Regions from separate parts of the Homo sapiens genome. Here all the other regions are linked to region 1. The links are contacts of gene promoters, found by promoter capture Hi-C in human tissues and cell types (Jung and others, 2019). All regions are on one chromosome and are shown on one strand. Each heading gives the region's core, a stretch centred on a gene start or on the middle of the fragment in contact. The rest is flanking DNA. Distances are from core to core; before and after follow the strand shown. Region 1 holds the start of ZDHHC21 (zDHHC palmitoyltransferase 21). Region 2 overlaps NFIB-AS1 (NFIB antisense RNA 1). Region 3 holds the start of NFIB-AS1 (NFIB antisense RNA 1).

What was found. Contacts are between HindIII fragments. The study calls those that stand out against the background at their distance.
Region 2: a contact is called between a fragment that was not itself captured here and the fragment with the promoter of ZDHHC21 in region 1, in 1 of the 25 tissues and cell types used here (dorsolateral prefrontal cortex).
Region 3: a fragment that was not itself captured here is called in contact with the fragment with the promoter of ZDHHC21 in region 1 in 1 of the 25 tissues and cell types used here (dorsolateral prefrontal cortex).

What each region holds. Positions count from the first base shown.
Region 1 is chr9:14,692,182-14,696,071 of GRCh38, reverse strand. It overlaps ZDHHC21 (zDHHC palmitoyltransferase 21), which reads left to right and starts at 2,640. Exons shown (of 10, transcript NM_178566.6): 1 at 2,640-2,843. RefSeq lists an enhancer at 2,135-2,635 and silencers at 2,709-2,778, 2,859-2,998. The HindIII fragment of the contact is 8,706 bases long and covers 1-3,890 here.
Region 2 is chr9:14,335,818-14,339,642 of GRCh38, reverse strand. The region is part of intron 1 of NFIB-AS1 (NFIB antisense RNA 1); the gene reads right to left. It also overlaps a transcript of NFIB not described here. Among named protein-coding and RNA genes, the nearest start is that of NFIB-AS1, 21 kb to the right of the region's middle. The HindIII fragment of the contact is 5,546 bases long and covers 1-3,825 here.
Region 3 is chr9:14,316,273-14,319,726 of GRCh38, reverse strand. NFIB-AS1 (NFIB antisense RNA 1) reads right to left here and starts at 2,640. Exons shown (of 2, transcript NR_186536.1): 1 at 2,382-2,640. It also overlaps a transcript of NFIB not described here. The HindIII fragment of the contact is 6,213 bases long and covers 1-3,454 here.

The DNA.
Region 1 (3,890 bases), core at 1,391-3,890:
AGCTGCCAAGGGCTATTAGCCAGTACTGATTAAACTCTGGACTGCACTGATTTTTGGAAATTGCACTAAAATCCAGATCCTCCCTAGTCACGGCACAGAAGCACAGGAGTTGGCTGTGTTTACCCTCATAAATGCCCTGAGTGTGCCTTTGTTAGAAGCTTGGTTGGCAGTGGCAGCAATGCTACTTGTCCTTGTCTACTTTTTCTACTTCCAGATAAATATTAGTTTGATTAATAATCACATTTCAGTTTGTCCCAGGCCCCATGAAGTAGATTAGAATTCTGGAGGGAAAAAATATGGTACGATCTATATCGTCTTTCCATAATATACCCAGTAAATAGAAAATCTTTTCAAAAGATTACCTGATGCCACATCTCCCTCACCCCCTTATTGTTACCCAGGTGCCTGAATGTATGGGTTGCAATACAATATAACCAATGATTAGCATGAATGATAGAACCAGATGACTTGACCTTCAGTGTAAGGGATAGGCAGGCCTTTGATTATACTCATGAAATGCCCATGCTAAAAAGGTTCATGTTTTTAAGGATGTTTCTCCTGCCTCTTCTCTCCTATTCCCTTGCTTAAAAATTCTCTGTGGAATTGATTTGGCTGATAAAAGACAGGCTAACTTATTTTAAAAAGGGACTGAAAAATCCATGCACTTCCAATTGTCATGTGCAATCATGGACCTGTCAACTAATTCTTATTTTGGCAGTTTTGAGATCACTTGTCACAAATTATTCCCTCTCACAGGGGTATCTGAAGAGAAAGCAAAATAATATGCAATTCATGTAGCTGGATTCAGGTGGAGGGGATTCTACTTTTAATATGCAATTGGGTAGCTGGATTTGGGTGGGGGGGGGATTTTACATTTAATATGCAATTCTGGTAGCTGGATTCGGGTAGGGAGGAGTCCACATTTAATATGCAATCAGGTAGCTGGATTTGGGTAGAAGGGATTCACATTGAATACGCAATCAGGTAGCTGGATTCCGGTGGGAGGATTCCACATTTCCTCTTCCTTCAAAGTGATTGTTTATATGAAATATCTCCTTCTTTTCAAACAGAGAAAGTTACAAAAATCCTACTACATCAAATGATTTATGAAAAATAAAGGTAATTCTATCAAAAGCAATCGTGACTAGTCTTTCAACCTCGCTATGCATATATCGGGGAGTGTATTTGTTAACCTGAAAGGCAATAAAATCTGCTTATGGGTAAATCAATTCCTACCACTGGGTTCTTTTGGGAATATCTAGTAATCTAGGTCAGTAATTCTAAAACTTGAGTGTGTATTAGGATCACCTAAAAGGCTTGTTACATCACGGATTGCTGGGCTACACCTAAACAGTTTCTACTACAGTAGATCTGGGATGGGGCAAAAGAATATGGATTTCTCACAAGTTGACAGGTGATACCGATGCTGCTGGTCTAGGGATCCCACTTTGATAACCACTGACCAAAGTTTTTAAGGTCACAAGGTGTTTATAATTAGTTCAGAAACCAGGACACAACATGTTTAAAAATCCTTAGCAATACAAGGTAATATGAGGCCCCAAACAGGCAACAATGTGCACTATATAAGGGCAGTGGTGAGAGAACTCTGGTTTGGCAAGATTTCCACTCTCAAATCTGGATAGGGTTAAGATCATCAGAGAGCAGGGCATTCTAGAATGGGGAAATGAACCAAATTAGTTGGAGCTAAGACTGGAGAGGTAGGTAGGGATGTGTCTGTGGAGGGCTTTTAAGCACATCTTATAAGGAATACAGATTTTATACAACAGGTAATATTTCTTCCACCAACACACTGTCTCCTCCTGTGGCACGTGGGCAGAAAGATCTAGCTCCACATTACTGCAAACGGTTTAACCTTCCCCAAATACTGTTCAGCCGGAGTGAGGTGGGAAAGTTAGTAGATCTCTGGTGTTTGGTGAAGATACCAAGTTAGACTGAGAGGTGGATTACTTGCATCGCTGAGTCCAAAAGTTGTCGGCTTTTGCAGGGATGGGAAAGCAGGAAACTTTTGGAGGTCTCCCAAAATATAAGAAAAGATTGTTTGGGTGTGGATTTAGGTTGAGGACAGGAACAGGAAATATCCTGGGATGTCTGAGGCAACCCAATAGAGGGTCTGAAGTGGACGAGACCATGCACTACAGTGCAATGCTTTTCCATCTTTACGGTGCACCCCAGGAGTCACCTGGTGATCTTGCTGAAGTGCATGTACTGATTCAGCAGGCCTGAAATTGTGCATTTCAAAGATTGTGAGTTCCCAGAGGATGCTGATGCTGCAGACCGCGCTTTGAAGCAAGGTACCATGGGACATCCCAGAACACCTGCGGGGAGAGAGGCCTGCTGGCCACATCCCCCGAAGAAAGGATACATGCAATCTTTTAAGCTAAGGCCCCCATCCTGTCTCTCGGGAGAGGTGAGCAGTGAGGATATGGGGACAATGAGAAGGACGGCTCAAGTAGGGCTGGGGAGGGGCAGAGGCGCCCAGGCGCGCCAGGTGCAAGCGCTCTGGAGAGTGCGGTCTGCCTGGGTCCGCGGCTCTGGGGCTGCGGCGCGATTGCAGGAGTTTCGGCCCTCAGCGGCTCCCATCGCGGCTCCCGGGAGCTAAGCGAGACGGCGACGGCGGCAGTCGTCCCTCCCCACGCGGGCGCGCGGGCATGCGGACACCCACTCGGCCGGTCCAGGCCCTCAGGCTCCCGGAAGCGGAAGGGGAGAGCGGCCCGGCCTGGGCGGCGGCGCCGGAGGAGGCGGAGGTGGCGCGGCAGGAGGAGGGGAAAGAGCTGCTGGCGGTCGGGAGAGCGGCGGCAGCGAGAGGCGAGCCAGCGGCGACGGTGAGTGTGCAGGCGCGGGGGCGAAGCGGCCGCCCCCACCCCCATCCCCATCCGCACCCCCACCCCCATCCCCGGCCCCCGCTCCGCTCTGCCGGGCCCGCCCGCCGCTCCTCCGCGCCGGGACGCCCTCACCTGTTCCTGCACGCCCCCTGCACCTGCTCTGTTTGGAACCCGGGGGTTTCTCGGTGCCTCCCCGCCCCAGGCCTGGCCTTTTTCAGAGCGTCTTCTGCTAGAGCTACAGCCCCTTGCTAAGTGCTCCTCCCTCAACTGGGGGTGGGGGGTTCCTGCTCTAGTCGAGACGATGTTGGCTAGTTATTTATTTATTTATTTTAAATCTGTATCCTGAGTTTCTCGCTTGTAAACTACAGTTTCTCTCCCCGCACCCCCGTCTGGAGACCTGCACTGGGATCCCGGGTTTCTCTGTGCTATTCCAGAGCTTTTCATTCATTCCAGACTTCTGGTGTGAAGCTGCAGAGAGGACAAACAGTTTGCTCCTTTATTGACCTTCTCACTCCTCTCCTCTTGATCCAAAGAGGTTTTCGGAAAATGGCTTATGGATGGCAGCAGTTTGCACTTGTTACTGTTCACTGTAACAGGTCGCTGGATTGTAACTGCAGAGTCCATTTAAGTTACGGTCTTTTTCAAGCTATATGTGGGTCACATTTTAAGATCCCTTGAGAGTCAGGGTGGATGTCTGTATCACCAGGGCTGAGAGGACATGACCAATTATTACTTTAAAATATTGCAATATAGCAGTCTCTAAAAGTAGAAGAGAAAAAAAAATCAAGGTCATTGTGGGCGGGTCATAAATTATATTGTAAAGTTACAGTCCAAAGGCGACTAAGGATAATTAAGTGCAATTTAAAAAGATGTGTTAAATAGGTCCTCAGCCTACTATGCTAATATATGCACTTTTAAAAATTCACTGCTTTCCTTGTGGTAAGAATAATATTAATAACAGTCACCATTTGATGACTGCTTAGTATGCGCCATTCCTGGATTAAAAGGCTTTTGGTGTAATATTAAATTCTTCCAACTCTTTAGATT
Region 2 (3,825 bases), core at 160-2,659, 360 kb after region 1:
ATTAACATCTTCATTAATAGTGTGGGAGAGGGAATAAACAATAGCTAATGATATTTGCAGATGGTAGTAAATTTAGAGGTGTTGCTACTACCAGTGAGAGCAGCAAGAGCCATGGGGATATCAGAGATGTGAACAAGAAGTGATTATAATGATGTTTGTTCTGGAAAAGGCAGAATGAAATGTTTAAGGGGGAAACAACGGGGGAAATTGGGAAATGATCAAAGAATCAGCCATTCTTTTATCAAAGAATCGCCATTCTTTGTAACCTGGGTGTGCGTTTAGCAAACGAGGCAGCTAATAGTCTTACAACTTCCGTTGCACATACTGGGATGTTGTCCTGAACAACAATAATAATCACAGCAACAACAATAATAGTAATAATAGCCAACATTTTTGAGTGCTTACAATAGGTCAGACAGGGTTCCAAGTGATTTACGTGAAAGCAATTTTTGTCCCTAAAATCATGATTCAGTTCTTCTAGGCTTTTTACATTTTCTGACAGGATACTTGCTACAGATCTGCAATTTCTAGATTTGAACAAACCTGTGAGTTTCAGGGGAAACAAGAAGTTTAAAATGGGATGGCCAAGTAAAGTGGAGAATATGGTGTGTCCTCTTTTCCCAGGCTCATGAGCAGAATGTTTCCATCTTTGATTTTTCCTGTCCCCAACCTGCCTACCATCTTTTCTCTATTTAGGCAATTGCTGGGTTAACGTGATTGGTGACAGTAGACGGAAAACTATCGCAAAGGTTCAGAAAGAAAGGAAAGAAGGGAGGGGGATCCAAGGGGGGAAGGAGGGGCAGGAGAAAGGAGGAGAGGGAGATGGATAGATAGATGGATGGATGAAGGAAAAAAGTAATAACATAAAGGAAAGAGAAAGAAACAAGAATGAGGGAAGGAGGGAAGAAAGGAAGGAAGAAAAGAAGAAAAGAAGAGAAAACCCTAATGTATTACTGTGTGTCTACCACAAGTCACACGGTAGCTGAGGTGATGAGCTAGGTATATTTCACATGTTTTCTGGTTTAATCTTTGCTGATCTACTTCCCACAATGACTCTCTCCAGTATTCATTATTAGCCTTCACTTCTGTAGATAAAATAAAGGGAAGCTCAGATGTTAGGTCACTAGCTATGAACACACAGCTGATAGATTGCAAAGAGGTTCAAACTCCAGTTGTTCTACTCCTAAGCTCATTTCCTTTCCAACCGCAAATACATATTTTCTTTTCTTTTCTTTTCTTTTTTTTTTTTGAGACAGAGTCTCGCTCTGTCACCCAGGCTGGAGTGCAGTGGCGCGATCTCTGCTCACTGCAACCTCCGCCTCCCGGGTTCACGCCATTCTCCTGCCTCAGCCTCCCGAGTAGTTGAGACTACAAGCGCCCGCCACCATGCCCGGCTAATTTTTTGTATTTTTAGTAGAGATGGGGTTTCACCGTGTTAGACAGGATGGTCTCGATCTTCTGACCTTGTGATCCGCCTGCCTCGGCCTCCCAAAGTGCTGGGATTACAGGCGTGAGCCACTGCGCCCGGCTACGTATTTTCTTTTCTTTCAATTTAGCCCTGCCTGAGTTAATGGCAACATACAGCTACACATAGAGAGCCAGAAGGTAAAAATATTAAGAAAAGAATCAACACCGAGGAACAGAGGGACAAAGGGAAAGTGGCCAGTACATGCATTTACTGCCCAGTCTAATGTAATTGAATTATTTACAATTACATCTTGAAATTACAAAACATAGAATTCATAAGCAGAAAGGTTTCAAGACAATGGAACCCATAATAATATGGATTTGACCTTGAGGGAATTTGGCAGACAGCATCAGTGTCTGAAACAAAAGTAAACTGAAAAGAAAAACAGCTGAATGTATAAAAGCCAAGACTCTTCTTGGGAAGTGTGGAGCCCGAGGCCAGATGGATGCCAAAGGTCTTCAAAATGACATCAAAGGAGCTTTAGGAAGTTGGAAACGTGTGGCCTGGGCATGTGTCCCCCGCCACCCCAGTGGGGCTCCAAATGCCAACTCAGGGTTAGAAAATGAGAACTGAAATTTTAAAGTGAGGAGATGTGCACTTCCGAGTATACACATAAAATGTCTAATTCAAAGAATATAGAGTAAACACCAATGCAATAATGACCCCAAGTCAAGAAATATAACATTGCCAGGTCCGCACCCCATCACCTCCCTCTCCTGAGAGGTAACCATTATTATGATTTTTCTCACCATCATTTCCTTGCTTTTACTTTTTTATTTTGATTTCAGCACTTTTGTATGCCTGTTTTTGAACTTTACATAAATAAAATCATACTGCATGTATCCTTTTATGACTTGCTTCTTTCTTTCAACCGTGTGTTGTATATAAATAATACAATGCATTTATCCATTCTGTGGTTGAGGGAACTTTTGCTTGTTTCTCCTCTGGAGCATTTATGGACTATTCTACTGAGAACTTCTTGTATATGTTACCTTCTGCACATGTGCAGGAGTCTCCCTAGGGTAGCAGCCAGAAAACTATCACCCACAAGCCAAATAGAACCTGTTAACTGCTCTTATATGGGTTGAGAGCTACGAATGGTTTTTACATTCTGAAATGGTTGGAAGAACAAAAACAAAGAAGAATAATATCCCATGACATGGAAAAGTTTTATGAAATTCAAATTTCAGTATCCATATATAAAGTTTTATGGAAACACAGCCAGGCTCATTGTTTATATATTGTCCGTGGCCCCTTTGTGTATAACATTGGCAGAGTTGAGTAGTTGTGACGGAGAGTGTATGACCTGCAAAACCTAAAATCTGGGCATTATGGCTACAAAATGCCCAGTTTCAACTGAAAAATTCAGCAGCGCTTCTTACTTAGATAAAAAGGGAAAAAAGCACAAAATAAATAAATAAATAAATAAATAAAGTGTTTCGATGTGGTGACTGCAGAGCATTAAACCAAGCACAGGAGCTTTCTAAGCACAGGCTCTGGGCCACTGCGCAGGTCCATGCCCATGAAGCTGGTCCTGCTTAAAATATCTAGTCCTTTACAGAAAAGGCTTATGGACCGCAGCTTCAGAGCATATCTCTAGAAGTGAGATTATAAGCATCTTAGAAAAAGTGAGTTGCTATATACAAAACACCCAGCAATGCCTGGTTACTTGTAAGCATTACCATAAATAGGTGGCTCTCCTCCTTCCCACCTTCCACCTGGGTTTCCCCAGGCCCATGAGGTCAGTCTGTAGAGTCATTTTCCAAAAATGTCAGGTGCTCAGCTGGTGGTCAGTTACCATAATAGCTGATGATAATTTGGTTAAATACCACCACAATCCCACTCCCTTCAGGGCTCATACATTTATAAAAACATATCTTTGAATAAAAATGACTTTTAGGCCCAAGGGAATAAAGGAATTAAAATCCACAGGTGCTAATTGCAGCTTCATGTTGTAACATGGTCTGAGCAGATTCAAGGTTTCTTGGAGAAAACTTGTTAAAAACAAGACAAAATACCAGAAGAGTTCATCCAAAGATAATATTGAAGGCACAAATCTGGAGAACTAACACTACCTGATTTCAAGACTTCTTATAACGACACAATGGTAACTAAGACAGTGTGGAATTGACATGGATAAAGACAAATAAATCAATGAAACAGAATAGAAAAACAGAAATAGACCCACATGTATGTGGAAAACTGACTTTGGACAAAGGTTTGAACTCGATTCAGTGGGGGAAAAAAGTCTTTTCAATAGATGGTGTTGGAACAATTAAATATCCATATAAAAGTAATGAATTTTGACTCATACCTTGCACTAAATACAAAGTTTAACTGAAAATGGATTATAGATC
Region 3 (3,454 bases), core at 211-2,710, 380 kb after region 1:
ACTTAATACAGAATGTAAAGACTACTTAGCCATTTTGGACAGAGCTTTCTATACCTGTCTTAAAAACCCATCTGTTTTCCTATGTTACAAGGCATGTGTATATGGGTAATAGAAGCCAGTTTACCTGTAGAAATAAAATGGTCATATAGTTTTACTTTATAGGTCAGCTATTTTGAAAAAGAGCAATAACTGCAACTCTCTCAATATCAGCAGACAAGAGACACTGTGTGAGAGAGTATATGGAACCTTTGTAACATTGTGGATAAGTGAGGCAACTATTACCTCTATTTTCAAAGTTTAAAATACATCATGCAAAAGTTACAGGGCAACTGCTGACTTTGTAATCTGTGAAGCAAGTGTCTTACAGTGTTGGGAATCTCTGTTGATGCACTGGCCTCATCTCTGTTGAGAAGTGAAAACCGGATAACCTTAGTGGAGGAATCTGGCTCAGTTGGTGTTGAGATCAGAACTGTATTATAACTTGTAAATATGCTAGAAATGTAGACACACTTAGTGGGATGCTTTTTTTTTTTTTTTAAACAGTGGAGTAGAGGCATTTCGGCAGTGACATTATTAACAGCGTCATTTTTCTCATTTACTTTTGTCCTCAGGGGACACCAAATAGCTCCCAGAGGAGGAGAAAAAGGTCCAAGGTTATTTATTCATTTCAGTGCAAAGGGCTAGCAATGGGGGTGGGGAAACTAACCAGTTGTGAATTCTCTGGTGGGGAAAAAATTACTACCCTAATTTGACAGTAGTACGTTAAGGGCTGGGTATGATTTTGTTTTTTGTTTAAGAGTAGTAGACAGTAGTAGTAGTACTCAGTAGTAGTTTAAGAGCTGGGTAATTTGATTACCTGAGCTGGTAAAATTGATTTTGCAATTCTCATCAAGTACAGGCACTTTCAATACTTCTTGATTGTTTATATATGCATTTATGAGTGGATTTTTGGTGTTCCTCCTTGTGGATATAAATTTGTGTTTTCCAGACTACACATGTATGATTTTTGTGGTTCATTTGGAAAAAGGAAAGATCCCAGGGCATGGTGCAGTAGATACTTGCAGTTTTGCAGGCCTGCTTTCTGGGGTCAGGAGGTCATCTGTCTCTTTTGCATTTAGTTTTTAAATATTGATATTGGTGATGCAGCCAGGGTGTGTAGAATAGTTGAACCTTCTTGCAAACCACATGCAAGAGCCAAAAAAAAAAAAAAAAAAAAAAAAAGGCATCGAGTGTATTGGAAATGACAGCTTTGTTAAGTTCCAAGAAATCTTTCATGAAACTGCCCAGGATTTGCAACCTGTCGCTGCAATTTCTTTAGGAAGGAAAAGGTTAAAAGAAAAACAATATTAGATACTTGAGATGTCAAGCTCCTCTCTGGAGATCCGTAGTGAAAGGCTCAAATGTGGTAGCGTTGCTTATTTCAAATATACAACTGGGTTTTGAAAAATCCAGTGAGCTGAAGCACTGGCATTCTATTTAGAAATCAATAAACTTTCTGTTAGTTAGAAAGGAAACTTTTTTTTTTCCCTTATAAGGCAGCAAGGAGATCTAGGGAGGAGATCTTTAAGAATACTGAAATAACAGAGTTTCCTGTTGCTGAGAGAATCATTCACTTCTTTCTGCCTCCTCAGCCAGGTTTTGGGGTGAATGAAAGTGGCCTGTCACACCAGTGCTTTTAACCCTCTCAGTGTGGGAGGGAGAGATGAAGAGTTTAGGATTGGTAAGTACCAAAGTTTAAGAAGTGTTTGGCCCATTTTGATACTATCAGAAGCTTTTCAGAGATATTTCCACTCTTAATACCACGACACAGACGTGCTAGAAAAAATGGAAAGTGAATACAATGCAGGCACTTTCTCAGTTCCTCCTTCTACCTGGGATTTAAAAGATTGAGATTTTCAAACCAAAGGTGGTGGACAAGTGTTGTGTTAAGAGAAGCCAGGCATCCCATGCACCGAAATCCACCAGTCCCTCTTTCCAAACAACTCCCTAGAGTTCTTCCAGGGAAGGCCTGCAATGACCTTGGCATTGGCTGGACAAGAAGAAGTGTTTTGGGGGGTGTCAGCCATTCTCCACATGGCTGCAAGGCCTGAGAAGACAGTCAAAGCCATAGAAACTGAGCACCCCCATAAACCTTCTTTTTCAGGAAGTCTCTGTTGCTCACTCTTCATTCCTTTTTGGTTTTCCTCGCCTCACCATACTCCTATCTCATTTTCCTTTTTCTGGGAAACAAATCAAAACCAAAAACTATCAAGCATCCTCTATGGTCATCAAAGTGCAACCAGCCATAAGCACCCTCAAACGTGGGGCAATTGAAAGAGATTTGAACCCCTAAGTGATGGGCCTGGGAGGCCCCAGACGTCTTCACTTCTCTGGGGTCTTACCTGGATCTGACGCTGCTTCTTCGCCCTTGGTGTTGCTGAAGCTTTTGTGGGCTCTTCTGTGTAATACTTGTCAATTTTTCGTTTTTCTTTTTTAAGCTTGTGAAAAACTTTTGGATGCAACCTAGTTTTGGTGGCAGAAGGAAATGGTTTCTGTTGGGAAAGGGAAACTAATAAAGGGAGGAGGGGTAGCGATGTCGGGAGACACTTGCCCAGGGCTCAGCCCTGGGCCTCTTTTTGCCAGGGGACAACGGCTGGTTCTGGGCTCTCAGGCTGAAAGGAGTGCTCTCTGGGTGCCAGGATTTCACTGGGGGTGGTGTGGTGAGGAGGGAGGGAAGAAGGGAGGGAGGGAGAGAAGGAGAGATGGGCGCTCGATTTTTAAAGAGACCCCGAAATAATGGCTTCTATGAGAGTCCAGGCATTCAAAGAGGTGTGTTCAAGGATATTAGTGCATTCCTGCCAAGGGGAATGTCTTTTATGGTAAATTAACTCCAGTTAAATTGAATATTTGTTCAAAGGGAAACTGCAGTAGTTAAAGCTGGTATTATCAGTAGAGCTTCCCCACCCCCTCCCCTCAGAATCTGGTGAGGGTGAGAAAGGGGATGCAGTGTAATGTGCAATACAAAGTGATGCTTTCGTGCTGGTGGTTTCTCTGTGTGTGTGTGTCTGTGTGTGTTTAATCTAAGATGAGGTTGCCTAAAATTTCTGAGAGAAATGAGTATTTACTTGGATTAACCCTGTCACCTCATTTCTTTCATCCATAAAGACTGCCAACTTTATCCCAGCTTTTCAAAAAGAAGAAATGACCCGCACAAAGGAAATTAACGTTGTCAGAACGCTGACTCCAGGATTTGCCGGGGCAGGGGCGGGGACCGCAGGGAGGCCGCTCCCAGGGCGTGTGGCCGAAAGGGTTAACTCGCAGGGGTCCGCGCGATCTCCCCGACTTTACCTGTCTTCCTAGTCCCAGCAGCCCCCGTCCCCGGCCTCCCGAACTCCCCACCCCCCAGCGCCTTTCTTCTTTGGGCTCTGGGTTTACGGGGGCTGCAGCTGGTAAACTTGGCAAGCTCGCCTCATTA